7 separate regions of the Homo sapiens genome follow, and regions 2, 3, 4, 5, 6 and 7 are each linked to region 1. The links are contacts of gene promoters, found by promoter capture Hi-C in blood cells and fetal thymus (Javierre and others, 2016). All regions are on one chromosome and are shown on one strand. The core of a region is centred on a gene start or on the middle of the fragment in contact, and the rest is flanking DNA. Distances in the headings are between cores, read along the strand shown. Region 1 holds the start of TBL1XR1 (TBL1X/Y related 1). Region 2 overlaps LOC105374235 (a long non-coding RNA gene). Region 3 has its middle 270 kb from the start of LINC01014. Region 4 has its middle 270 kb from the start of LINC02015. Region 5 has its middle 190 kb from the start of LINC02015. Region 6 overlaps LINC02015 (long intergenic non-protein coding RNA 2015). Region 7 has its middle 7.3 kb from the start of LINC02015.

Region 1 (3,092 bases), core at 232-2,731:
GACACTTAGATAACCTAACAAAGAGAGCATTTTTTAAAAGCCACAACCCAAATTTTACATGAAATACACCATTTTCACAACCTAAATTTAATCCCGGTTGCCACTGCGAAGTGATGCCTGTTTCAGCAAATTAAGAACTTCCAAAAATACTGAACACGTTAACACATGCATGGCTTCCCTCGAGCTGCCATTTAAGATTAATATTCCACTTAAATAAAAGTCTGCTTCTGTTCAAAAAATTAAATCGGTTGCAAAGAGGAAGTTACCGAGAAACCACCCTCACAACGTGGCCTTTACACTGTCAGAAAATAACGTGACTCTGTGCCACCCAAAACTTACCAGGAAGCTGGCAATAACTTTGCCAATTCTACACTCCTGAACCCAACTTCAAAGAGCCTCCACCAAATACCTCCTTAAGACGATAAAAAGCACTAAGTTACAAATAAACACGTCCCGGAGCAAGGCCCGGCTGCCGCGCGCCCCTCCCCCGGCCGGCGCCCCCGCCCCGGACGCGCGGCCCCAACAGCCGCCCGCAGCCCCCAGCACGCCGGCCGGGGTCGCCGCGCCCGGGCCGGGGACGCGCCCGGGGAGGGGAGATTTCCATTGCCGCCCGAGGTTTCACAAAATAGCATGCACCGAAAAGCTCCTTCTCCTCTGCTAAAAATAGGCTATAAAGGAGTCGGCCTCATGATGGCTCCTTGATTCAATTTGCTGCAAATCCTTTCCTGAAAGCCTCCCCCCCCAAACACACACGCACAAAAAGGGGGTGTAAATGCACGAAGGGAGGAAGAGGGGGAGAAGGCCGAGGTGCACATTTTCGGGGACAACATAATTAGGGTGAGGATCCCCCGAGACCGGGAAAGGGTAGGGGGGTGGGCAGGCACGTGAGCATTTCAAAGAAACCTGAGAGAGGAAAACGGGGGGATGGGGGCGCCCCAAGTGCCCTCCCTGCCTTCCCTTCCCCCACGCAAGCCCAGTTCCCCCAAGGGCCAAGTTGAAAAATGCATGTTCCACTCGCGCCCATCCCCCCGCGGCCCAGCGCCCCCGGCCGCCTCTGGCCCGCGCCCCCCGCCCAGGCCCCCGGCCGCCCCCACTCCAGGGTCCGGCCCCCAGCGCTTACCTGGAAACGGTGGCCTCCAACGCCGCTCCCCCCTCCCGGGAATGGAGGCACAAGGAAATTCCCCTCCTCGCCGCCGCCGCCACCGCCTCCAACCACCCCCAAAATAACCCCTCCGGGGGGTGAGAGGCAATTATAACCCCAGCGAGCGGAGGGCGCGGGGGATGGGCGCCGGGCGGGCGGGGGCGGGGAGCGCGGCGCGGGTCCCCAGGTGGCGAGCGGAGGTGCTCCCGCCGCGGGGGGAGGGGCGGGGGCGCACGCGGCCGGCGGCGGGGGGAGGCGGCGCGCGGGGGAAGGGCGCGAGCGGGGAGAGGAATTGAGGCAGAAGGTAAAAGCTGTTACTAAGGGAAAGAGCCAAACGGTTCGGAGCAGCCAACGGCTCAGACACTCAACACTGGGGAGAGAGGAATGGGGACCAGCCAGGCACAAATGAGCTCGCGAGGCCCGCGGCGGCGGCGGCGGCGGCGGCCGCGCAGCAAAACAAACCCGAGCGGCCTGCGCCGGGCGGGCGGGCGAGCGGGCGGGCGGGCGCGCGGGGGAGGGGCCGGCGGGGGAGGGGCGCCGCGGACGCCGGGAGGCGGCGGCGGCGCGGCGGGGGGGCTCCAGCGGCCGCGCTCCTCTCCTTCCCGGCCCGCTCTGGCGGCACTGGGGGCTGGGCTGTGCGGCGCATTCTTTTAAAAATCAGGCGAGCCCCGCGGGCACTCGAAGGCGCCTCGGGGCCCCGGGCCGCCCGCCCCGCCCCCACCGCCGCGGGCCGGCCTGGGTGTGCTCGGGTGTGGGCCGCTGGGCCCGAGACGGGTGGGGGCGGGGAGGCCCGCGCGGTGGCCGGGGTGGAGCCGCCGGCGAAGTTTCCCCAAGGACGCCGCGGGCTCCCGCGTGTCCGGGGGGCGGCCCGGCGGCGTTGGGGGCTGGGCGCACACGCGGCGGGCATGTGGGGGAGTGCGGCGCGGCATCATATGGACATTTGTTTGTGAAAATCTCTGTGAACACCTTTGTGTGCGTAAATACATATGGTTCTCCGAAGCGTACCTGGAAAGGTGCTTTATCTGTAATAAGCGACTTTCAAAATGTGATCCAGAGCACGGGATCTGGAGAGAAAACACGCACACAAGAAAAGGTTTTTGATACTAAACACAAAGCTGTAATTGAAGTATTTATGCCCAAATGTACTGTGAATCAAGCATATGGTGGTATTTATCATCTGGTGGGTCTGTTTGAAAGGTTTGCTCGATCAGTTCTTATTTCACAAAAATAAAATAATGTAACTAAATGTTTACTAAATATATACCTGCACAGTGGCATCCACAGTAGAAGTTTATCCACTTTGTGTACTTTTTGCATGTGTGAAGCACAGCAAGGCGGTTTATAAAGTATAACTTAGATGAGTGATAATGTGGCAGTATGGTTGAGGGAGGGTTGTTTTTAAAGAAGGGAGGCACCTCACAGGTTTTAAAGCAAATGGGGTGGTAATCTTTCTAAGACTTTCAGAAAGATGGGGTAGGGTGCTTTTTAGAGCTTTGTATAAGCTCAGGACTGGAGAAGCAGCCACCCTTTTACATTAAGATACGACTTGAAACCTTTTTGTTATTTCGCTTATTACTGCCTTCAAAGCAAAATAATGTTTGCAGCTTTCTTAAAGGTGAAGGGTTCTGTTTTCCTACTTTCATCAGAATATTTGAAAATAGATGTAGTGATCACTTTAAAGCAACCATCATTTCCTCTCAATATCAGAAACCTGAAGTTTTGCGACACACACACACACACACACACACACACACACACACACACACTACTCGTAACTTGCACCAGTCTGGACTCCTGGTGGCCTAATAAGTTCAGTAATTAGACAGGTGCTTTCTTGGCCAAGGTCAATGTCTCTTTCCCCCCTGAGCCCTTGCTTGGGGGAGCTGCCAGAGGCCTTTCCTGAATGACCTAGTGGGGCAGGGAGCAGGAAAACCATCAGAGGAAAGGGAGT
Region 2 (3,092 bases), core at 344-2,843, 980 kb after region 1:
AGGAGCAATCCAGGACAGTATTTGATTTTAAATAGGGAAAGAACTCACACTCTAATACACAGAGAGAAATAAGTGGTGAAATAACACTTACAGGCTTGTAAATGGCAAATGTGTCTGCAGTGGGCAGAGCATGCTGCTTTCCTCTCCTGGGAATGAAATAAAAATGTGCCAACAGAAATAGCATTGAAAATGCCTGGTGGTAGAGGCAGTGGTATTAACAAAAGCATTCTCCTCCTCATTAAGCAAGTACCAATTAGATATATGGAATCCAAGAGCTGAAAGGGGTATAAGGAATTAACTCACTAGTCATCCTCAACTTCCACGCAAATAATGACTGTGAGAGCTAGTTTCCACAAATGTTCCCGCTTCAACAAACCATGCCTCCTGGAATTCACATCCTTGTGTAGCCCCTTCCATGAATTGGATGCTGAGCTTCCAGCCCTAGCTGTTCCAGTGGATGGTCCATGGATCAGATATACCACCCAGCTGAGGTCTTCCTGAATACTCAATCCAACAAAATCATGAGCAATATAAGAGAATTGTTTTAAGCTGATAAATTTTGGAGTAGTTTGTTTTTCAGCAGTAAATAACCAGAACAATGATCTTTCTATGTTCAAATATGCCTTATGGGCACTCATAATCATTATAATATTCATTCACTGAAAAAGTGCATAGTGGTAAGATGCTATTATTCATCAGTGCTTTTAAGAATTCTAGGCCGGGTGTGGTGGCTCACGCCTGTAGTCCCAGCACTGGGAGGCTGAGGTGGGCGGATCACAAGGTCAGGAGTTTGAGACCAGCCTGGCCAATATGGTGAAAGCCCATCTCTACTAAAAATACAAAAATTAGCCGGGGCTGGTGGTGGGTGCCTGTAGTCCCAGCTACTGAGGAGGCTGAGGCAGGAGAATTGCTTGAACCTGGGAGGCGGAGGTAGCAGTGAGCCGATATCATGCCACCGCACTCCAGACTGGGTGACAGAGGGAGACTCTGTCTTTAAAAAAAAAAGAATTCTAATAATAGTAATCATGAAAATTGTAATGTCTAATCTTTTTCAATGTTGTTTGTGTCCAAAGTGCTCTTCCAAAAGCTTTCCTTAATTATACTATTTAATAGTCATAACACTGTGATGAAGAAGGTATTGTTAATTACATCTTCATTTTACAGATGAGGAAACTGAAACACAGAATGATTAACTTTTTTCACTGTCATCTAGCTAATAAGGAATTGTTACATATTTTATTCATTACAATAGTAAGTAGGTGCGTTTGATACATTGTAGTTCATAGGCATTTAAATATTCTATTTCTTTACAATGCTCAGTACAATGTGCAATGCTCAGTATTTTGGTAAATTCACAGTCACTTTATGATAGCTCCAGGATCTCCAAGGAATTTATGGACTACAGTTTGAAATCCATTGGTCTAGTCCAATTTCTATTACTCTTTTTAGAAGAACTGAGATGCACAGAAGTTATAAGAATTTCCTAAGTTCACATAGTTAGCAACCTATTCAGAACTAGAATTCCTTGTTAGTAATGTCCACTGCAGCATCTTTATACTAATCTTAGGGGATCATCAATTACTGTTTGGATCTTTGATTCTTTACATCTTTCTATCAGAAGTGTACTCTGACATTAGCTCTTATTTAAGCTAAAATTATCAAAATCCTCTCTTGTTGTGACATACTAGTTTTTAGAAACATTTGTATAATTGTAAATTATTATGTCTTCTTATTATTTCAGTTACTGTTTAAGCCTAAAGAAATAAAGTAATACCTTTTAAAAAAATATCTAATATGTACCATTATTCAGATCAGCTTTACTGCACATTAGTCTTTTACTGTCCTGTGCAAAACTAAATAAAATATATAAATTATCCCTATCTTGGTTTCACAACTGGTTAATACTGTCTGTTGTATTTGCTGCATCAGCCTTGCTCTGTGGGCTGGAGCAATTATCAGTGACCAAGTAATCCAACTCTTCTTTATTCTCTCATTGCCTTAACCCTTTTCTACACTCCAAGGGCAATCAATACAAATATCTTGCCAAAGTCCATTTCTTGTGCATGATACTGCTTAACATCACTCAATCATTTGAGTGGAAAGCTTTACAGGAGTTCATCTTAGGTGAACTTGAATATGCCCATTTTTCTTTGAGAGTGGAATGAAGAGTTCCAAACAAGTCATAAAACTGTAAAAGCAATTTCAAGAGTCCATCCTGATTGTTCCCACTGTGAAATAGAAAGAAGCATCGGGGTTTCAAAAACATTCATGTACTCAAGGATATATCAGTAACTATTTATTGAACATTCCTGCAGAAAACATCCTGTAAAGTTGGATGAACCCTGCAGTGGTTGGATGAGTTATTTACAGAGGTCTCAAGGCAGGGTGTCCTTATTCATGCTGAATATGAGTTACCTAACAATAAATCCAATAGCACTAAAAAGGAATTTATGACAGAACACTTCCATGAATTTATTGTTAGCATTAGAGGCATTGGTTCCATATCATCATGAATTTGCAGATCTAGAAAGGACCTTGAAAATGTACTTAAGCCTCCTCGTTTTATCTACAAGTGAATATAAACCCAGACCAAAGAAAGGCAGTTTCTGTGACTTTTAATGATTTATCCTAACCATGGGCTTATGTGTTTATATCCAGTAGGCAATAGCAAATGGTGAGGGTAATTAGTCAGTTACAGGAAATAATCAAAACAAACAAAGACAATTCTTGGATATTAGGAGTTATAGAAGGAACTTGAAAGTAAAAATAAAGTTTGAATTGTAGGTAGTTCCCTAAGCAAAGGTTATAATATCAGAGATAGTGTGTTCTAATCTACTAGCTCCCTCTGTCCTTTGGCAAAGAACAATGATTTCAAGGAATTCTACTCACAATTATCCTGACAATTGTAATGACTAACCTTCACTCAACGTTGTTTCTGGATCAAAGTTTCTTCTTCTGTAAAATAACAAAACACTCTACTTTGTCTAGTCACCAGACTGCTATGTAGACAACATAAAATGACTTTCATGAAACACAAAGAACATTATTTGTTAAAACTAATTTCTCATCACAAACTATGTTAATTGCGAGAA
Region 3 (3,092 bases), core at 160-2,659, 950 kb after region 1:
TGGCTTTCCACACTGCATTTAGGATAAAGCTTAATCCTTAATGTGGCCTGAAGGAGAGTGGTGTTGGAACTGGCTTATACTGGCCCGTAAAAACCAGCTTTAAATTTTGTGAGCTGATTGTCAAACACAATCATTATTAAAATTAAATTATATAGCCATACAATTAGATAAATCATATAAAAAAGATAGATAATAGTCAAAACTCAGTAATTCCTACTTATTTTACATTTTACTTTTTGTTCTTGAGATTATTTACATTTATTGTATTTGTATGGTGGAAATTCTATACAATCATCTGCAGCTGCACAGATCTCCCCAACTCTGTATAAGCTGGTATCTTGACATCAGTTATGTGGTTGTATTTATACCAAGGGAATTGGCAACACTACAAAGAAGGGGTTTTTGTTTGTTTGTTTTATTTAGTTTTTTCTTCCCCAGAGAGCTGCTTGCTAAATGTTTACCAGCACATCATTGGGAAGCCATGACACAAACCTGGATTAACATATAAGGAGGCCAAATTGACTTATCCTTGAACAGTTCTTTGCATCTGTTTTTGGCATTTCCATTTTACAATCCCTCCCCAGATAATAAATTTTTAAAAAAATTAATAAAATTTGTTTATTTGTACTACTTTAATCTTTGAAATTATGCTCTCTGAATAATCATTGCCCATCATGTCTCATGAGATCCAGCACAAAACAAAACTCACATTCTTTAAGAACTTTACCTTTCTGTCCCTAGATGCTGAGACTTTTGTTTCTCATTGTTTAAGTGTACAGCACTCCTTACAGTATTATCAATTCACAATTTATATTATTGTTTCAATGTGTATATATATATACACACACACAAGTATGTATATATACACACACATATAAGTTGTGTATATTGTTTCACACATATGTATACATACATAAGTGTGTATATATAGTATATGTATATATACACAAATTGTGGGTGTATATGTATATGTGTGTGTGTATACACACACAGTCTTTCGAAACACAGTTAATAATTTGAAAACATAACAATATTTTGTATAGATACCTAGTGGCACTTAGAAAATGAACCAACACCCAGGTGTTTTAAGGTTAATATTCTTGGATCCAATTGTTGTAATGTCCATAGAACCTTTCTCAAATTGCATCAAGGGATCTGAACATTAAATTATGTTCTTTTTAGCACTTCCAGTAATAAGAATTTGACAATCATAATTTGCCAATTTCCCTGATAGAACATAGGCAGAATAGCATCTGGTTTAGATTTTCCATTTCAGTATTGACTTTAAGATCTTCTTTGAGAAGAAACTAGGCTTTAAAATCTCATCAGGAGTAGCAATATGCACCATTTTACAGCCATTTTCTTCACAGACTTTCATCACACTTTTAAGAATAGAATTTGAAAGACAAAAAATTTTGGTGCATTTGTGAGATATGAAGTGGCAAATAAGGCTTTGGCTAACTTATAACCAAGGATGCTTTAAAAGATTCTTTCCAAACAAAAATAAATAAATAAATAAATAAAACAAAACCCACAATGTATGTTAAGTATGCCTCACTTGAAATAGCGAGAACATTTTAAATATTGTGACATGGCTATGATAATTTTCTGGGTCACAACAACAGTGGCTAATCTGAACATGAGAAATTTACATAAGAGCTAAGGAAAGTCTGTAAGGGAAAAGTAGACCAGAAGGTCTAGAGGTTATCTACACCAGTCCATGTGAAGAAGATGGAAAGTGAAGGGATTACCCCTTTGTCTACCTGACAATTACCTTTCTATAGTGTCTGGCATGTGCTTATTTAATATATCCAAATATATGTGGTTCTCAGAAAGACATAATGTCCTTGAATTTCATCTTTGTTATCTCTGTCTTCAAACAGAAGCGTGAGTGGATTTAGGTTTCATAAGCCTAACGTTTAACGCTTTGGAAGAGAGGGGCTATTTTTTAAAAAATTGCACAGTTACAAAACAAAATTAGGTTCAAGAGTGAATATTTAGACTGAAAAGAGAAATAATAATTACAATTTTTAAATGCTGAAAAATCCCTTAAATCTCACAAAATTAGAAAAATATATGTTTTCACTAGCTAATTGCTTGAAATACTTCTATAATACTTTTGTCTGTATTTCTGTACACTGACTCTTTATAGGACAATAATTTTGTAGTAATTTTTATAGAGAGAAGATAAAGATAACTCAGTCTTTTTGACAAGGTTGATCAAATTTTGGTTTTATCGTAGATAATTGAGATGCATAAAACATGACTTCACACACAGATGTCCTCCCTGTTTGTGGTACAGTTACAGACTTATGCCTCACAAACAAAGAGATTTTGACAAATTCTATTGTGCTTAATTTCTATCAAAAAAGGAAAAGCAATTGTATGGTGCATTTAGATTTGTCTATGTTGCATTATCAAACATCCTTCTACTAAAAAGGAACTTCTGTTTTTTCTAAGCATTGATAGGAATCATTTTAACTCATCTAAATACTGGAAGAATTTTCCGCAGACTTATCTCTGTTTCCATGTATTTCATACTTTGATTCCCCTCCAGTGTCATCATCTGGTGCCAGAAGTTGGTAAATATCTTTCATGGTGTAATGCACCCACTGACCCTGCACTTTTATAGTGTGGTACAGTGAGTAGCAATAGTCACCAAAGTTATCCCTCCACCAGAACTTTTCATGGAAATCACCACTATGTCCCCCAAACCTAAGTTAAATATATCCCCAACTTAACTTGTCTGTAGCTTTGTCCATGGGCCTTCTAAGACCGTGCACTTAAAGGAAGCTTAAAGAAGTTATTAGACAATCTTAATCAATATGGTAGAGCTACCTTACTCTTGCAAACTTTACAAAACTATATGACCACAGTGCTAGGACTCTTGTTAGGACTTTAGAAAGGTCATGTGCATTTGAGGGGCTCTGAATGTTAGCCCTCATTAAACTTCATAGAGAATCTGTCCCTGGACAGTTTAGGATGTGCTGCCAGGAGGCTCCCACTATTAAAAATATAGGGAGTGTACCATGGGATACTGGAGTTAGCTGCATATTAGCAAAATGAGGCCAAGTATCAGAAATGAAATCCTA
Region 4 (3,092 bases), core at 427-2,926, 890 kb after region 1:
GCTAATGAAGATGCATTATCAGTAAATACTGTTTCTGATCAGGAGATCAAGATGTCTAGTAATGCATTAAAGGTGTTCTACCCATTTAATCTGGGATAATCATATCCTTAAACAGCCCAGTTAGAACACTTTTGTATGTTCATGTTTACAAAACAATGTCAAGCATTTAATATAATTCAGTAAGAATGGTCACAAAATGTTGACAGTATGATTTACTGAACTTGCATACAAATGCTAGTTTCAGGAACACAGAATTTTTTTCTATAAGAGGAAGAGAGAGAGTTGCAAATCAGTCAAGGCCACTGGAGCTAGCTCATTGCCTCAATATGTTGCTATTTATTTTGTGATTACAAATTTAAAGCAAACTAAATAAACGTCTTCAGCTTTAAAAGGTACAAGTGCATTATACATTTCATGACTAGCACTGTCTTTTTTCTATAAACTACAAAGGAAGATAATGAATGCAGTTGAGCACATACTGTGAGTAGGCTGGTCCAGCCTATATTTTATAGGCTGTGCAGAATAGCACCCTTGTAAATCAAATGGATGTTGAACATTGGACTTTGAGTCAGGAAACATGAGCTCTAGTCCTGATATCACTGTTGAGTAGGCCCATGAGGTTTTTCCAGTGAATTAGTCTGTTTTGGCTTCATTTTCCTAGATGTTTTGTATAAATGTACTTTTAATACATCTCAGCATTTATGAATATTTAGTAAGCACACACACATTGCCTGTTGAATTGACAAAATAAGAAATTGGGTTTGATTTTTTTCTAAAGTTTTATAATGTTCTAGATTTTTATTTGTTGAACATGTCCAGGTACTGGATTCTTTTAGAAGTTATTCCAAATAAAATACAAGAATAAGTGGGCTTTTCTGAGTTTTCTGCCAAGGACACAAGGCATGTCAAAGTCTTTCAGCTAAAGAAATGTGACTAGAAATAGGATATGATATGTTAAAAGAGGTCAGATTTAAAAATAAGCTAAAACATTTTCTAAGACTTCCCATTAATAACATGCTACATTTTAGAAAAGGCACTAGGCAAGGAATCAGCAGATACATGGAATTTATTAACTGTTTTAGCACTAAATACCTCAATAAATTTGGCTGTCCCTTATTCTGTCTGGCTCCTGGTTTTCTCAGCTGTGAAATGAACTGCAGCATTGTGCTGTAAAGGAATAATGAGGGTTAGGTCAAAACATCCAATAGTCAGTCAAGAAGAAGCAAGCATTTGGGGAAATCCATATAATAAAAAAGCACCATATTCAACCAAACAGAAAAACTGATACCCAAGTCATCAATGTAGCAAACAGAAGTGTGTGTGTGTGTTTCAAAATGTGTTTTTAAAAATTCTAGAAACTTGTCCCTCAGTGGCCAAGATGGCTGACTACAAGCAGCTAGGGTATGTGGCTCTCACAGAGAGGAATGAGAGGGTGGAGTAAATACAGCACCTTCAACTGAAACATCCAGGTACTTGTATTGGGACTAATCAAGGAAACAACTTGACCCACAGAGAACAGAAAGGCAAGGCAAAAGGATGGCCCACCCAGGAGTGACATGGAGCCAAGGGAACCTCCCCTGCCAGGGAAGTGGTAAGTGAACATGTGATCCTGGAAAACCACACTTCTCCCATGGACGCTTGCAACCCTTGGGTCAGGAGATCCTCTTGTGAACTCACTCCACCAGGGCCTTCAGTATGATATACACAGCTAGGTGGAGTCTTGGCAGATCAGCCATTTGTGCACACAGAGAGACCTAGGTGCTTTACATATTCCTGCTCTGGGCTTCCCAGCAAAAGTAACAGCAACTCCAGCAAAGTGGGAGGTTAGACCTCTGTACGTACCACTACGAAAGAGGCTGAATTCAGTGGGCTGAGCAGTGATGATCTGCGGGCCTCATTTCCACAACATCTCACAAGATAAAGCCCACAGTCTTGGAATTCCAGCCAGCTACCAGGAGCAGTGTTGCACCTACTTGGGGAAGAAATCAAGGGGTGGGGAGGAGCAGGACGCCATCTTAACTATTTGGAAAACTCAGCCATTCCAGCCTGTGGGTGGAAGGGATCTCCCAACATAGCACAGCTGCTCTACCAAAATGTAGCCAAACTGCTTCTTTAAGTAGTTCCCCAATATGTTTCTCCTCACTGAGTGGGACCCCCACCCTGAACTAGGACCCCTTAGCCACCCCTGCTGATGTTCTCTGGCCAAAAGAGATTTGAAAACTTCCTAGGACAGAGTTCTCAGAGGGATGAATGGGTCACAATCTTTCCTGTTTGGGTGACTTAGCCATTCCAGCCTCCAGGCTTTGGAGAGCCCAAGCTGACTGGGGGTGGAAGTTGTACTCCAGTACAGCACAGCTACTCTGTGAAAGTGTGCCCAGACTGCTTCTTTAAGCAGGTTCCCAATCCCATTCTGGCTGACTGAGTGAGATCACCTAACTAAGGTCTCCAGCCACCTCCTACAGGTGTGTTCAGGCTGGCAACAGGTCCATAGCTCCCTAGGATGGAGCTCCCAGAGAAAGGGGCAGGCTGCCATCTTTGCTGTCTCACAGCCTTCACTGGTGATCCCTCCAGGTACTGGAAAATCTGAGGTGACTAGGGACTGGAGTGGACCTCCAGCAAACCACAGCAGCCCTGTGGAAAAGTGGCCAGACCGTAAAAGAAAAAATAAAAATCGAAAGGTAAGCAATCTCAAAGATTGAAGGTAGATAAGCCTACAAAGATGAGAAAGAATCAATGCAAGAATGCTGAAAACTCAAAAGCCAGAGTGCTCGCTTTCCTCCAAATGACTGCATCAGTCATTTGGGTTCAGAACTGGGCTGAGGCTGAGATGGCTGAAATGACATAAGTAGAATTCAGAATATAGATAAAATCGAACTTCACTGAGCTAAAGGATCATGTTGTAACCCAATACAAGGAAGGTAAAAATCATAAAACATTGTGGGAGCTGACAGACAAAATAGCCAGCCTGAAGAAGAACACAACCAACCTGACAGAGCTGAAAAACACACTACAAGAACTTAATAATGTGATTACAAGTATTAATAGCAGAATAGACCAAGTGGATGAAAGAATCTCAGAGCTTGAAGACTAAC
Region 5 (3,092 bases), core at 178-2,677, 810 kb after region 1:
AAGTATTTTATTTCTGTATGTGTGTTATTGTGGGAGAGAGGGGTTATGTGAACTAAATCAGGACATACTAGCTGTTCTCAGTTTAAAAAGAATAAAGGCCACCTGTCCAGAGACCTAGAATATAGAATCTAGTTGGATGATATGTAAATTAACATAGTGTTCTCAGCTCAAAATGTGTAGAGGTACTATAGTCCTGATTTTACTTTTAAGATACTTAAAATTTAAGATTGAGAACAGCCTTCTATAGACTGATGTGGACTCCATGCTTCATCATAGAAGTCTGAGTATTGCTTATTAATGAATCATTTTCATAACATTGTATTAGGAGTTACATATAAATTTGGCATCACTTTGATACACTAAGCTTTTATAGACTCCAGAAGTAGATAAAGAATTTCTAACAGCAGTAATGGAGAGGTGTGAATGCCACCAGCAATTCAAGATTCTGTTCCAACTCAGGAAACATACTACCCCAATCAAAATTAATTTCCTCCCCCTTTGGCATTTTTCTCAACCATATGTAGTTTTAAAATTATTGTGGTGACTTCTATCGCTCTTTTGAAAATATACAGGATGTATTTATCGAAGATAAATATAATTTTACTTAGTATGTTTTCTGAAATGATAGCACACAATATATATCAGAAAATAAGGCAATTATATGATAACTGTTTGTGAACTGTATTTGATTCTGCCAGATTTTATGAAAGATATATGTTTAACATATGTAAATGTTTATATTAGATCATATGGAATATAATTTTCGTATGCCTTTTAAAGAATTATGGAATTCATGTTCTTCCTCAGGAGAGTGATTTCCAAAGTGTCTTAGATTTTTGCGTATGACTCCACTTCAAATCCTCTGTGATTTGCATCATGCTGTACCATTTGACCCAGCAATCCCATTACTGGGTATATATATAAATCATTCCATTATAAAGATACATGCAGACATAAGTTCACTGAAGCACTATTCATAATAGCAAAGACATGCAATCGACCCAAATGCCCATCAATGATAGACTGGATAAAGAAAGTGTGGTACATACACACCATGGAATATTATGCAGCCATAAAAGGGAACGAGATCATGTCCTTTGCAGGGACATGTATAGAGCTGGAAGCCATTATCCTTAGCAAACTAACCCAGGAACAGAAAACTAAACACCCTATGTTCTTAATTATAAGTAGGAGCTAAATAATGAAAACACATGGACACAGAGAGTGGAACAACATACACTGAGGCCTGTCGGAGGGGCCGGGGAAGGGAGAGCTTCAGGATAAATAGTTGATGCATGCGGGGCTTAATACCTAGATGATGGGTTGATAGGTGCAGCAAACCACCATGGCACACGTTACCTATGTAACAAACCTGCATGTCCTGCACATGTATTCCAGAACTTAAAATTAACTTTTTTTAAAGTGCATAATCTTCCCAAATAACTGAAGTTATTTGTCTTCTGTTAATTCACAGAGAAAATAGTGGCATAGATGGATGCATAGATAGACGAATAGATGGATAGATAAATATATAGATAGATAGAAGATAGATAGTTAATACATATAAAATAATATCATCTAAATACAGAATTAAGACTTCAAAAATTACAGTAAATGGAGACACAATTAGACTTTAAATACATAATGAGAGTTATGTTCAGAACTATAACCCTTAGCAGTCTGTAAGAACATTTTACATTGTGGATCTTTATTGGTTCCCACAATTATGTGAAAAAAGGCCAAACTATATACATTTTACAGAAGAGAAAACAGGTACCAACATTAACAACCTTGCTGAGTTGCAGGCCATGGTTACGTCAGAGTCAGGAATTGATTTCTGCAGAATTGCTCCAAGTCCAGATGTTATCCTGCTAGACTGTGTTTCACGAGACAAGTAGAATTCTTCCCTATGGTTTAGTTTTCCTTAAAGTCCTTTCAATTTCAGAATGAGACACTCTTGAGCAAATCATGAAGAATTTAAGAAAGTAAGAAATTATTGATAATAATTACAAATTTATTTAAAAATGCAGAGTAATAATAATTTTATTCTCTCCCTATTTTCAAACCTACCCTCAGCAGAGATTTCAAACTTGGATGATGCTCAGAATCAGCTTCAGGGCTTTTGGAAGATAGTGATTTCTACACCCCAGACTTACATATTGCCCAGGAATCTCTGTTTTTGTAAAGGTCCATAGCTGATTCTGATGCTGAGCTAGGTTTGAGAACTGCTGCTTTAGAAAAATATGTTAGAGTAATTTTGGTGGAAAACCTATTAGAAAAATCAAATAGAAGACAGTACATAATGTATTTACATACCATAGTCCACAGTTCTGAAGAAAGTGCAGATTTTGTGTAGCCAGAGTTTATATCAATCAGGGAAACTTCTTTTTTTAAGAAAAAGAAAACATAATTATCAAGATGAAATTAGTTTTAAAGAAAGAATATTTACTAAGAGTGAGAAAAGTAATCACAACAAATTATACATTTTAAAGAAGCTTAAACCTACCACAAACATTATTAATTGCCTAACGCAACACTGTGCTTCACAATATCCTAGAAATTGCTCCACATTATTCAACAAACAACTTCCTTATTCTGTTAAAGGAAATAATGTGCACTGTGTAGATCTACCATAGTTTATTCAATCACTCTCTTATAAATGGGCATTTACATTGTTTCTAAGATGTTGCGATGACAATGAATGATTTTTTTTGTGTGTGTTTGTATGTGTGTGTGTGTGTGTGTGTGTGTGTGTGTATCTTCATAGTATTGGATGTGCAACTTCAGAAAAAAATCCTAAAATTGGGATCATTGGGTCGTAATGTAAACATATATGTAATCATTTGGATATTACCAAATTTTATCCCCTAAGGTTTGCACCAATTTTCTTTCCCACCAGCAATATATGAGGGTGCTTGTGTTTCCACAGCCTAGTAAGAGTACTGTTATTTTTTTTAATTTTTACTGATCTGGTAGGTGAGAGTCGGCATCTTAGTTTTGTTTTAATTTGCATTTCCCTTTTCTCATATCCTGAATGAGGTTGAACATCTATTCATATGCTTAAAGGTTATTTTTATATCTGTCTTGTGAAT
Region 6 (3,092 bases), core at 253-2,752, 630 kb after region 1:
AGTCCTTGTTACTGCTGGCCAGAGAATGGGTTGTTGCCCTGTGTTTTTTTTTTTTTTTTTTTTTTTCCCCAGGAAAGCTGCCACGGCTTTTCTTTATTCAATAAGTACATGACTGCATTTGGTGAATTGTGTTTACACGTTCTGGTGAAATGAGATTTTAAAAAGAAAATGAATCAGGGAGTGTTTTTAAAGAGCACAGAGTGAGGAGAGGAGGTGGGGAGCGCTGCTGCCAGTCCTGTTCTGTTCTCTGCCTTTTGTCATCCTTCCCCCTCTGTATCTCTCTCCTCCATCTTCTCCTCCAAGGAATCACTATGCTCCTGGCAGGACATCCCTGGCGTCTGTCAGGGGAGAGAAGGAGGAGGAGAAATAGGAGAAGGAGAAGAGAAGAAAAAACAAAAGAGAAGAAAAGAACATCACAATTGACGTTGGAGAGTGATCTGTGCTAGGAGGAGTTCATCTCTGCACTTCCCCATTGGAATGACAGTCTCAACTTTACCCCAACTAGCCCCCCACCTTACATGAGCTGTAGGATCGACGTCGAATCTCTTGGCCTCTCTGAGCCTCAGTTTCCTCAGCTATTAGATGAGGATAATACCTGTACTGTTTTTGCCAGAGTGGTTGTAAGAAAGAAATGAGAAGCTTACGAAACCATAAAGCATGATGCCAGTCAAAAACATATAGTGATTTATATCTTAAAAAGATTTATTAGTCCTGGCACGGTGGCTCACACCTGTAATCCCAGCACTTTGGGAGGCCGAGGCGGGGAGATCACGAGGTCAGGAGATCGAGACCATCCTGGCTAACACGGTGAAACCCCATCTCTACTAAAAATACAAAAAATTAGCCAGGCCTGGGGGCACATGCCTGTAGTCCCAGCTACTCAGGAGGCTGAGGCAGGAGAATGGCTTGAACCTGGGAGGTGGTGGTTGCAGTGAGCCAAGATTGCACCAATGCACTCCAGCCTGGGTGACAGAGAGATACTCCGTCTCAAAAAAAAAAAATTATTAATATTCATTATTTATTTTAGAGACAGAGTCTCGCTCTGTCGCCCAGGCTGGAGTGCAGTACGATCACAGCTCACAGCAGCCTCAAACTCCTGGGCTCCAGCGATCTTCCTGCCTCAGCCTCCTGAGGAGCTGGGACTCTAGGCATGTGCCACCACCCCCAGCTAATTTTTTTTTTCTTTTAAGATATGGGGTCTCACTGTTTTGCCCAGGCTGGTCTTGAGCTCCTGGCCTCAAGTGATCCCTCTACTTTTACTCTCAAAGCACTGGGATTACAGGCATGAGCCACCATACCTGGCCTAAAAATATACAGTAATTTATAATTTTATTTCTATTTTCTCTTACAGGATAATTTATAAATTGAGTGTGTTTAGATTTCCCCAGCATATGGGCTCAGGTGATTTCACATTTAGAGTTAAACCTGAATTTTGCAGTCGATAAAAGAACATTTTGTTGGCTGTAAGCTCAGCTCATTCACACAGGCATGTCTATCCCTGCAAAGTTCATCCCTGATGCTTCTGTGGGCCCCAAGTGGTAACTTTATGTGCCTTCACAGATCCAGTTGAGGGCTCCCCTCACCAGTGCCCTTGCTGCTTCCCCAGCCTCCACCTTGCTGAAGAGCAGACCTGACCTCGCAGCTGAGCTTCAAAGCGCTCAGTGCTCACGGCTCACAAGCTGGCAGTCCTTTGGGAAGTGAGAAGGGAAGGGCTTCCTGGCTGTGCAGTTACACCCGGTTAAGTGGACCCCTCGGTGGTACTGGGGAGCACGGCGTAGCTCATGCCTACGACACTCGTGGGGCAGGGGCACTGAGGCAGCACCAGGACCAGCTGGTGTTCCTGACCCCTCTTGCTCCTCCTGCTCAGCCTTATGGTTGAGACTGGCTTGTCAGGCCTACCTCCGTCCTCTCTAGAACACTTTCTCACAGAGATTTAGCCAAATTCTCTTGGCACCTTGGTTGCTTTCTCTCCATGCCATTCCCAGTCCCCTATTCGTTCCCGCATAGATCTAATCCCCAACTGGGAATACATCTTGCAATTTTTTAGAAGATTCCTCATCTACCATGTAAATCACCAGATGAATAGAAACACCATAATGGACAGCAGTTTCTTCTAAAGCCAAAGCCAGGTATTCCTGGATTTCCGTTCCAGGCTGGTTGGGACTGTCTCCCCTCACCTCATTCACACTTTTTATGGTGAAATCTCCTGTGAATGGCATCATAATTGGCCCTTTACAGTCAAACAGAAGAACAGAAATCTTTTAAGTAATCTCCCAGATAATTGTCTTTTATTTTTCCAATACCTATTATACCTGGGAGTCACTATATATTTAAGGTGATGGAGATTTAAAATAGGGAATATGAGAAAGCTTAATATCCTTTTATGTCACTGAAGAAATAACAAAAGTTAAATCTCTAGTTGATGAATTATGAAGTAGCTGGTTCCTTATGAAACAGGATTCATAGGATTTAAAATAAATTTTTGTAGTTGGCAGAACTTTTATTTTTATGTGTCTCCTAGCATATGACTTCAGCAACACATAAACCCTTCTTTCCATTTTTCTTAAAATTCTAAGTAGTTCATTCACTTTATCATGTCTGTATTGTTCAATGTTAGCCCTATATAAGATGGTAAGTACAGTCTTTATCCATTATAAACTTAAAGTCTATAGCCATAGAGTAATTTATGAAACCAGTCACTCGTCCAGCATATATTTATTGAGTGTTTATTATGTGCCGGATGCTGGAGTGACAAAAAAATGAACAAGATGTAGATCCGGCCTTCAAGTGTAGCTGGTGATTTTCCACAAAACCCTCTATTATTGTATCTTAACATCCAGGAGTCAGCCAGGAGTTACACTGATCATAAATCGATAACCTCATTTCAAAGCTCAAACACAGAGATGGCAAATAAAGCCCTGGGCAGCACTGACTGAAGCAACAGATGACTCATTAATAGCAGGAGGCAATGAATAACTTTGCCACTGAGAGTGAAAGAAAATTCCCCCTTTGCACAATGCCTTTCACTTAAATAGCATTTGGATTTCTTAAAATCCACAAAGTTTATATTAGAGCGTCATCCATTAATGCTT
Region 7 (3,092 bases), core at 198-2,697, 610 kb after region 1:
TTGTTCATTCCTCCCAGTGGGTTCGTGGTCTCGCTGGCTTCAGGAGTGAAGCTGCAGACCTTCATGGTGAGTGTTACAGCTTGTAAAGGCAGTGTGGACCCAACGACTGAGCAGTAGCAAGATTTATTGCAAAGAACGAATAACAAAGCTTCCACAGTCTGGAATGGGACAGGGCCCTAGGGTTGCCACTGCTGGCTCAGGCAGCCTGCTTTTATTCTCTTATCCGGCCTCACCCACATACTGCTGATTGGTCCATTTTACAGAGAGCCAATTGGTCTGTTTTACAGAGAGCTGATTGGTCCATTTTGACAGGGTGCTGATTGGTGTGTTTACAATCCATGAGCTAGACACAAAAGTTCTCCACCTCCCCACTAGATGAGCTAGATACAGAGTGCCGATTGGCGTATTTACAAACCCTAAGCTAGACAGAGTGCTGATTGGTGCATTTACAAACCTTGAGCTAGATACAGAGTGCCAATTGGTGCATTCACAATCCCTTAGCTAGACACAAAGATTCTCCAAGTCCCCACCAGATTAGCTAGACACAGAGCACTGATTGGTGCATTTACAAACCTTGAGCTAGACACAGAGTGCCAACTGGTGCATTCACAATCCCTTAGCTAGACATAAAGATTCTCCAAGTGCCCACCAGATTAGCTAGATAGAGTGCCAACTGGTGCATCCACAAACCCTGAGCTAGACACAGGGTGCTGATTGGTGTGACAAACCTTGAGCTAGGCAGAGTGCTGATTGGTGCACTCACAATCCCTTAGCTAGACACAAAGGTTCTCCAAGTCCCCACTAGACTCAGGAGCCCAGCTGGCCTCACCCAGTGGATCTTGCACCGGGGCTGCAGGTGGAGCTGCCTGCCAGCCATGCACCCGCACTCCTCAGCCCTTGGGCGGTCGATGGGACCCGGCACCGTGGAGCAGGGGGCGGTGCTCCTCTGGGCACGGGGGTGGGGGCGGGGGCGGGGGGAGGAGGGAGAGACTCAGGCATGGCAGGCTGCGGGTCCCTAGCCCTGCTTGTGGGGAGGCGGCTAAGGCCCGGTGAGAAATCGAGCACAGCAGCTGCTGGCCCAGGTGCTAAGCCCCTCACTGCCCGGGGCCAGCGGGATTGGCCGGCCACTCTGAGTGTGGGGCCCGCGGAGCCCATGCCCACCCGGAACTCGGCTGGCCCGCAAGTGCCCTGGGCAGCCTGGTTCCCACCCACGCCTCTCCCTCCACACCTCCCGGCAAGCTGAGGGAGCCGGCTCAGGCCTTGGCCAGTCCAGAAAGGGGCTCCCACAGTGCAGCGGCAGGCTGAAGGGCTCCTCAAGTGCGACCAGAGTGGGCGCCAAGGCCGAGGAGGTGCCCAGAGCGAGCGAGGGCTGCGAGGGCTGACAGCACGCTGTCACCTCTCAATACTAATTGATAATAAATGTTTCTGGAATGCTGAATTGCATGAAGGAAATGAGAGAAAATCACATAAGCTGCTTTCAAGTCCCGACCTCTGAGAACAATGCATATACCTTTGGACAGCTTATTAAAAGGAAAATTTCAGGATGTGTACAATGTTATTTTCTGTTTATTCCTGGACATGAACATAATATTTAATTAAACTCTGAGAGGTAATACTAATAATATTTGTGAGACTGTACACTAGCTATAGAATGACAAAAGTTACAGCTTTCATAATCTTTTCCTGTGGAATAACACATACTAACAGAAAATTGTTTGCTATTTTCCCTTTAGCAAGGCTAAGGTATTGTCCAGTGGTTTGGCCAGTGAAGTCAAAATATCCCCACCATTTACTTGGTGAAAACCACTGAATCAGTTTCTACGAGGTAGAGAGAAATAACCTCAGAAGCTAGCCTTATAGACTCAATTTATAAAGTCATGGTAAGTCTAAAACAAACAAACAAAAAACAAACAAACAAAAACCTCCCCACCAAATGTAAGAGAAATGAAGAAACAAGATTCCAGATTCAATTTATATAAGTTTTCTCTTCGAAAAAGTTATTTCTAAGAGCCCTGAAAATAAAAACCATTTTACCTAGTTATAGAGAAAATTATTTTTCCAGATTTTTTTGGCAGTGTTTTAGGTAGAAAAAAAGTTTTGTAATGAGATTCTCCTTCCATAATTATTCGTATCTGTGCATTTGGTAGGTACTGAACACACTCCACTGTATCTCAGAAGGGATCTACAGATAAAGATGACTCAGCACAAACAGTTCCAATCTGAAGCATTCAGAGAATCTCTTCTTTCCTTGTTCTCAGATGTTTTGAAATAAACATTGGCAGTGTTTATTTATGAAGGTTCGGGACTTTTTGAATGTGTCAGCAGCATGCCTTGACTCTAAACAGACTATGTTGCAATTTTTTTCCCTGATGATTCAAAACTATAAACTTAAAATTACCTAATTAAAAAGATACTGAACTACAATAAACTTGGACTACAACTTCAGTTATGTACCTTGTCTGAAATTAGATCATTTCAATAACCCCTCTTCATGCCAAAGACAGCGTTTCCTCTTAGTGCATAAACATCCTCTGAACTCTGACTGAGGGTTCTTTGTTGCTTGATCATTGTTGTTTTGAACGATATAATTTTAATTCTTTCCCTGTTTTGTTAAATTGAGGATTTTGGCTCAAATTTATTTTTCTTAATAGGCTATGAGTTACACGGAGAAGTAGAAAGAAAATAGCTCAAGAGAAGTGTCAACAAATACTGTTGGGGGGGTACTCAATTGTTTAAATAAGAATTTAAAGCTTAAGTTTATTGTGAATAATTCTCATTCTGGAGAGATGAAACGAAGAACCTATATATACTGCAGTCTAATGATAAATATTTAAAATCCAACGAGAAACACTCATCCGACATACATATTTCTAGCATTTTCCTGATGTTGGTAATGCATTAATAATGCTTCAATTGATTGGCATATATTTTGGTGGATAGGCCAAAAACAGGATGTCAATTGCTAGAAAGCAAGATGCCTTCTCTCCTCTATTTTCTCTTTTCTTTAGGTCCCATGAAACCTCAGCTTCCCTATTTGTTTAATGGAGATAATCATTCTTTCTTCATTTTTTCATAGTCAAATTGGCTGTAGA

Evidence for each region. Contacts are between HindIII fragments. The CHiCAGO score rates a contact against its expected background, and 5 or more counts as called.
Region 2: a contact is called between a fragment that was not itself captured here and the fragment with the promoter of TBL1XR1 in region 1, in 1 of 17 cell types (endothelial precursors). The highest score is 5.1, in endothelial precursors.
Region 3: a fragment that was not itself captured here is called in contact with the fragment with the promoter of TBL1XR1 in region 1 in 1 of 17 cell types (total CD4 T cells); the score reaches 6.5 in total CD4 T cells.
Region 4: a fragment that was not itself captured here is called in contact with the fragment with the promoter of TBL1XR1 in region 1 in 1 of 17 cell types (fetal thymus); the score reaches 5.5 in fetal thymus.
Region 5: a fragment that was not itself captured here is called in contact with the fragment with the promoter of TBL1XR1 in region 1 in 4 of 17 cell types (monocytes, M1 macrophages, naive CD4 T cells and 1 more); the score reaches 11.2 in monocytes.
Region 6: a contact is called between a fragment that was not itself captured here and the fragment with the promoter of TBL1XR1 in region 1, in 1 of 17 cell types (M1 macrophages). The highest score is 5.4, in M1 macrophages.
Region 7: a fragment that was not itself captured here is called in contact with the fragment with the promoter of TBL1XR1 in region 1 in 1 of 17 cell types (total B cells); the score reaches 6.3 in total B cells.

The regions. Positions count from the first base shown.
Region 1 is chr3:177,196,001-177,199,092 of GRCh38, forward strand. TBL1XR1 (TBL1X/Y related 1) reads right to left here and starts at 1,482. Exons shown (of 16, transcript NM_024665.7): 1 at 1,121-1,482. RefSeq lists silencers at 524-573, 1,054-1,153, 1,264-1,453, 1,694-2,073 and enhancers at 1,059-1,568, 1,569-2,076. The HindIII fragment of the contact is 6,955 bases long and covers 1-3,092 here.
Region 2 is chr3:178,172,125-178,175,216 of GRCh38, forward strand. All of the region lies in intron 10 of LOC105374235 (a long non-coding RNA gene), which reads right to left. Among named protein-coding and RNA genes, the nearest start is that of LINC01014, 250 kb to the right of the region's middle. The HindIII fragment of the contact is 1,016 bases long and covers 1,086-2,101 here.
Region 3 is chr3:178,146,816-178,149,907 of GRCh38, forward strand. No RefSeq gene overlaps it. Among named protein-coding and RNA genes, the nearest start is that of LINC01014, 270 kb to the right of the region's middle. The HindIII fragment of the contact is 2,764 bases long and covers 28-2,791 here.
Region 4 is chr3:178,088,631-178,091,722 of GRCh38, forward strand. No RefSeq gene overlaps it. Among named protein-coding and RNA genes, the nearest start is that of LINC02015, 270 kb to the left of the region's middle. The HindIII fragment of the contact is 3,765 bases long and covers 1-3,092 here.
Region 5 is chr3:178,007,939-178,011,030 of GRCh38, forward strand. No RefSeq gene overlaps it. Among named protein-coding and RNA genes, the nearest start is that of LINC02015, 190 kb to the left of the region's middle. The HindIII fragment of the contact is 2,131 bases long and covers 363-2,493 here.
Region 6 is chr3:177,824,727-177,827,818 of GRCh38, forward strand. All of the region lies in intron 1 of LINC02015 (long intergenic non-protein coding RNA 2015), which reads left to right. Among named protein-coding and RNA genes, the nearest start is that of LINC02015, 9.4 kb to the left of the region's middle. RefSeq lists enhancers at 1,214-1,714, 1,715-2,215. The HindIII fragment of the contact is 1,730 bases long and covers 638-2,367 here.
Region 7 is chr3:177,808,059-177,811,150 of GRCh38, forward strand. No RefSeq gene overlaps it. Among named protein-coding and RNA genes, the nearest start is that of LINC02015, 7.3 kb to the right of the region's middle. The HindIII fragment of the contact is 2,602 bases long and covers 147-2,748 here.